Regions from separate parts of the Homo sapiens genome. Here region 2 is linked to region 1. The links are contacts of gene promoters, found by promoter capture Hi-C in human tissues and cell types (Jung and others, 2019). All regions are on one chromosome and are shown on one strand. The core of a region is centred on a gene start or on the middle of the fragment in contact, and the rest is flanking DNA. Distances in the headings are between cores, read along the strand shown.

Region 1 (3,079 bases), core at 217-2,716:
CAGAGCTCCCTCCTGCCTACCTCTGTCCTCAGCACAGAGACGAACCTGGCCAAGGCTCCCATTTCCCAGATGTCAACACCAGCCCAGTAAACCACAAATGCATCCTGTGTGCAGGCCTCCCCAGTCACTCTCAATCTATTAATCCAATCCATCCCAGCACCCCAGCCCAACATGCCACCCAAACCGCCTCATTCCAGGCCCCCTCCCCCACCCTTTCTTTCTTTGCCCAGAGGACACCTGGCTGCCCGAGTTTGTGTTCCCACAACTGCCCCCAGCATGGGCTTGCCTGGGCCAAGAGGGCCCTCCCGAGGACTGGCCAGAACAAGGAAAGGGACAGGAAAGGCCACATCTGGATCACAGCCCTGAAGCCCCCTCCCCCAAACCAGCCATCACTCTCTCAGAGCCCAACAGTAACCTCAGCCAGGGACGACTTCCTCACCCTCCTGACCCCATGCATGCCTTTGCCTGGCCAAGACAGCCCCACAGGAGCCCCTCTGAGGAAGGGGTCCTCTCCTCCTCTGACCCCCAGCCCTTCTGCAGCAGGCAGCCCTCTCCCATCCCCCTTTACCCAGGAGCCTCAGCCCAGGTCTGGCCTTAAGACTTTTAACCTTCACCACGTGGCCCCCAGGCCTCTCTGCTGGCCCCCCTGGCATCCCCATCCTGAAACCCACCTCCCTGAACCTGGAGCCAAGAGAGAAAGGGGGAAGAGCGGGCCATGGCTCCCTCCTCCAGGATGGAGAGGTCTTGGTAGCAGGGGAGGGCTGTGGAGGAAGGGATGGCAGTGGGTGGAAGCTGAAACTGGGTGTAGAAGGAATAAAAGGGATGGACTCTGAGAATTCTCCCACAGCCCAGCTCTTCCAGACTTAATATTTTGGACTACTATTCTTTGCTCCCCAGCCCCACCACTGCCTCCTCCTCAAGATCTTGGGCTCAGCAACTGAGGGGGGGCGGTGAAGAATTTTCACCCCATTGTAGGATGCAAGTCGGGAGGAAAGGCTCTAAAGAGAAGCAAACTTCTCTGTGGCCTCCTTCCACTTACAGCTCTGGGACTCCATTGGGGGGTGGGGGGGTGGGGCAGGGGATGTACTGACCCGGGACCCTGGGCCTGGGCCCTGTTGGTGGGGAAAGTCTTCCGGCTGAGGGTTGCTCAAGTCAGTCTGTCCTTCTGTAGGTCAGAGACAGAAAGGCCCCTCCTTCAAGACTGACACCCCCCGACCCCGGGCTCTCAGCAAAAGGATAAGGTGGCAGGGGCCGGTGGGGGGCGGGGGGTTTGAGGAAGAGTAACGTCGCAGCTAAAGCAGCCAGACCTACCCAGAGCATGCAGGACAGACAGATCCACGTCATCTTTGCTGGGTCCCGTCACTGAGGCACGCCCAGGGCCTGTGAAGAGCCCCTGAAGCTAGAGTCCCCGCGGCGCTGGCAGAAGGGCTCTCTGAGTCCGCGGCTGCTCCGGCTCCGCCAGCATCTGCTGGGCCTCTCGCCCTGCTGCCTCCAGCTCACCCTCCCTCCTCCTCCTCCTCCCCCCACTCCACCCCTCGTCCCAGCCTCCTCTCTCCTCCCTCCTCCCAGGCTCCACCGGTGGCCTTGAGGGTCAGGAACCCTGCTTTGCAGGGGGTGTAAAGGGGACAGGGAAAAGGGAAAGCTACCAGAGGCAGGGCCCCCCCAGGCCGTGCCCCCCACCCCCGGACACACAACCCCTGTGTGCCACCAAGGCTCCTCAGTCTTCTGATCTGGTGCTGGTAGGCCTGGAGTCCTCCCTCCTCACTGCAGACCCCCGCCCCTGGCAAACCAGCCTGGGGGCCTTCACTCCTGGAACCCTCCAGACCACTGATGGATGAACAGACAGCCCCAGGCCCACACAATCAGCACACTCAGGGTGCCTTGGCCCCTCCCCTTCTCTGAGTACCCGTGCCTGCCTTCCTGGCCTCCTCGGAACACACATGCATTTGCACACACAGACTGGGACAGACTCTGGTGCCCACGCGCCAAGCTCAGAGCCCAGGACAGGCCTTAACACAGAAGAAATAGGGCCCGAGACTGGGGAAGAATGGCCCTGCCCCCAGGCTGTGGGTTTCATTCCAATTTTTTTCCTATTTCTTTTTTTTTCCCCCTTCTTTCTTTCTTTCCTGCAAACATCTGTCCCAGCCTTTCCTGCCCTTCTGAAAGGGAGCCCCGCTCCAGGCTCCCGCGAGAGTGTGTTTTTCTTGACTGTACCCGGGGCCAACATTTGGTTTGCATTTCCCCACTTCCTCCCCCTCCTCCCCTCTCCCCCTCCCTGGGCCCAGTTCTCCCCTCCCACCATTCCACAGGCCTATTTCTTCCCCTCAGTGTCCCCTGCCCACCAGCCCTCCCCTCCCCTCGCCCCCACCTCTGCCCAGGGACAATTGTTGGGGGTCTAGAGGGTGGAAAGGAGGCTGGGTCAAAACCCAAAAGTATTCCCACGGAGCACTAAGGGGGAATCCAGCAAAGTCTGCCCCAGGCCTTCATTGTCTGGAACCACCACGTTCCCCTCCAAAAAAAACCCTTCCTCTTTGAGCTCTGGCCTTGGCTGGACCAACTGAGGGTGGGTGGGGGCCAGTGAATCACCCGCTCTGTTCTTTGGAGCTGTCCAGGAGAAGGAGGGAGGGCTCAGCCCCACACCCTCCTGTGGACACACACACACACAAGGACACAGTCCAACTCACGTCAACACATAAGAGCCCTCCCAGAGTAGGCACTTGGAGACCTCGTTCCTAGACTGAGTCACTTAGCAAGAAAAGTTCTCTTGCCTGGCCTCCTATGCACACTGTGCTATACATGCCCTGGGGCCACATGCACGAAGGGTTACAGATCCCCTGCCTCCCCCCCCCACTCACCCAAGGCCATGCCATGCCGCTGTCTGTCAGCACCACATACCGTGCAACTACCAGCCTCCTCTTTCACAGGGATCTGCCCAGCCACTTGTGCCAACTCCCAGCCCAGGGACCACCCAAGACATCTACCTGGGAAACCCCAGAATGAAGGGGAAACACTGACTCTTCATCTGAAAAAAAGACTGCAGTATTCAGATACACAGGTTGTCCACAGCACAAGGGACTAA
Region 2 (3,079 bases), core at 353-2,852, 1.0 Mb before region 1:
CCCTCCTCTGTGAGATCATCAGGAGCTGATGTCCTTTGAACAAAAAGTCCTTTCAAGAAGCCATTTCTACGTGATTCTTCCCGGGTTTCCATGCCACTTTTTCCTCTTGCTCTTTTAGGCTTGGAGGTAACAGCAGCTTCAGTTACGATGCTTTTTCTTTTCGTTTTTTTGAGATGAAGTTTCACTCTTTTGCTGAGGCTGGAGTGAAGTGGCACTATCTCGGCTCAGTGCGACCTCCCTCCCCTGGGTTCAAGCAATTCTCCTGCTTCAGCCTCCCGAGTAGCTAGGATTATAGGCACCTGCCACCATGCCCCACTAATTTTTGTATTTTTAGTAGAGATGGGGTTTCACTGTGTTGGCCAGGCTGATCTCGAACCGCTGACCTCAGGTGATCCACCCACTTGGCCTCCCAAAGTTTTGGGATTACAGGCATGGGCCACTGCGCCCAGCTGATACTTTTTCTTGTGTTCCTCTACACTCAGGGTTGCCGTAGAACTTATTGTCATCCTTAAGAGTCAAAGAGGATGATAAAATAATTATTTTTAATTTGTTTGTTGACCAAAAATTAGTTTTGTTATATTGTGGAGCTTATAAAATAGTTAAAATAGTTCTATTCAAAACTGCTCTCAAAAGTAAAGCTCTTTCTGTTTTTTTTTTTTTTTTTTTTTTTTTTTTTTTTTTTTTTTTTTTTTTTTTTAGACAGAGTCTCACTCTGTCGCCCAGGCTGGAGTGCAATGGTGTGATCTTGGCTCCCTGCAGCCTCCGCCTCCCGGGTTCAAGCAATTCTCCTGCCTCAGCCTCCAGAGTAGCTGGGATTACAGGCATGCACCACCATGCCCAGCTAATTTTTTGTATTTTTAGTAGAGACGGGGTTTCACCATGTTGGTCAGGCTGGTCTTGAACCCCTGACCTCAGGTGATCCACCCACCTCAGCCTTCCAAAGTGCTGGGATTACAGGTGTGAGCTACCATGGCCCGGGCAAAAGTAAAACTCTTTCTAAAAAGCTAAAATAATATATGTGTATATACTCATTAAATCAAAATTATAAAAAGCTTCTTTAAATTTATTATTTATTAAAATTACATGAACAAAGTAATAATTATTCTTGATGCATAGTCATGTATTTTAGTTTCTCTAATGCTTTGTCACTGCAGTTTTTTCTGAAAATTTTTTTTACAATGTTCTCTGAAATATTCCTCTATCTCAATCTCAGGAAGACTAAATACTGCAGATTGAGGAGTGAGTAGAGGCAAGATTATATATATGTGTGTGTATACATACATACACACGTATGTTATATATGTGTGCATGTGTGTGTACACATACATGTACATATATGTACACATATATCTACATATATTTGCAGTTGTAAATGTAGGCTAAGTCTTTTTAAAAGTAAAGAGAGCCAATAGAAATCATTTTTGGAATGCAAAATTGTTCTGGGTATTCACCAATGTAAGGAAAGATATTTTCAGGATTCTTAGAAGTGGAGCTTTGAGAGATTGAAGGGGCCAGGTGTAGGCAGCATGGAGTGCAGGAGAGAGCCCAATCGAATAGAGGGCCCAAGATGAAAGAAATGACATTCCCAGGTTTAGAAAAAGAGGGCTCTGTCCCAGCTTAAAGAATCACCCAAAGATAGAAACAAGTCAGTAGCCCTTAGTGACTAGTACCTATGGAAAGTTTTAGCACCTAATAATCTGTGTGAATGTTAACTACAGTAGTGGAATTTGAGAGTATACTCCTCCTACCTGGGTATGGGCAGAGGAAGAGAGTGGGGAATGAAAAGTCAGTGAAAGAGTGGATGGAGGAGGCTATGGAACCAGGGTTCTGTCCAGCACAGACAGGAATTATCCCTCTTTCTCCCTGTGTGGCAGGGACATCACAGAGAGGACTTGAGGACCTCTTCCAGGCACAGGAGGTAGTGACAAAGCCCTCCTTTCATCAAAGCTCTGTGTTTCTATGGCAGGATTGGGGAGGATGGGAAGGAGGACTCCATTAGGAACAAAGAACATAGTTGCAAACTGTAGCTCCCCATCTTCCATCCTGGAGATGCTTATTAGGGGCCAGAGAAATGCAAGGGGGGTTGGAGAAGCAAGCCACCTAGCCAAAGAGAGGGCAATGGAAAGAATCTAGAAATAGAGTTGGAAGACCCAGTTCCAGCAGGAGGAGCATGAAGGAGACAGATGAGGTGGAGAGTGAAAACCCCTTGGGGGGTTGGCTGGACAGAGGCCAGCAGGGTGGTGGAAAATGGCTGTTGGTGCCAGGAGAAGAATGAACTTGAGTGAGAGGCCATGGGAGGGTGGGGGAAGAGGGCATGGGGCAGGCCCTGCAGGAATCAGAGACATAGTGAGAGCTGATGGTGATTCCAGCTGTCCAACATCCATTCTGCTGATTTGTGCTGGCAGGATGAAGGTCTGGATGGGAGTTGAGAGCAGTAGGCGGTGGAGGAAGCAGGTGCTGCAGGGGGCTGCTGAGGGTCAGGGTGTTGTCTCTTGGGACCAGCATGAGTCACAGCACTGGTTCTCCCACCATGTGCTCCCCAAAAGTGGGATTCTTTTTTTATTCTTATAGTTTGCAGAGTGCTGATTCTAGACCAACTTGTGTTCTGAGAAAGGCTGAGACACCCTAAAAGAGCATGTCAGCTTGGGTCCTGCGGCAGGGCCTCCTTAAGGAGTGCTCCATCTTTGTCCTGGCCCTGGAAAGCTCTAGGCTGGGGCAGGAGAGGGTCAGCGGCTCTGCAGCCAGGGTATGGGGTGGGAGACCTGGGGGCTCCCTTGATACCTGGAGGTCTTTCTGGTCTCCTGAACTTGCTCCTTCTTGCCCATTTTCCATGGTGGTTGCTTGGATGGGAAGGTGTCAGAGAAGGTTCTCTGCAGAACAAGGCAGATCTAGGGAAGCAGGCAGGGGAAACTGGGTCAAGCTATGAGCTGTGTTCTCAAAGCTCTTTCTTCCTCTTCTCCAGCATTTCTAGGAGATGAAAAAGAGGCAAGTAAGGAGGAGAGAGTGCCTTTAAAGTAAAGATGAAGAGGGACTTACTGCCTCTCATCTCCAATCCCTGTAAGCCAGTTGTAAGAGCTAT

The links. The method cuts DNA at HindIII sites, captures the fragments that hold promoters and counts their contacts. A contact is called where the count stands out against the background at its distance.
Region 2: a contact is called between a fragment that was not itself captured here and the fragment with the promoter of TNS1 in region 1, in 2 of the 25 tissues and cell types used here (bladder and thymus).

Annotation. Positions count from the first base shown.
Region 1 is chr2:218,001,529-218,004,607 of GRCh38, forward strand. It overlaps TNS1 (tensin 1), which reads right to left and starts at 1,467. Exons shown (of 33, transcript NM_001387777.1): 1 at 1,312-1,467. The coding sequence starts at 1,344. RefSeq lists enhancers at 1-411, 412-912, 2,653-2,752. The HindIII fragment of the contact is 30,357 bases long and covers 1-3,079 here.
Region 2 is chr2:216,965,803-216,968,881 of GRCh38, forward strand. No RefSeq gene overlaps it. Among named protein-coding and RNA genes, the nearest start is that of TESHL, 97 kb to the left of the region's middle. The HindIII fragment of the contact is 8,095 bases long and covers 1-3,079 here.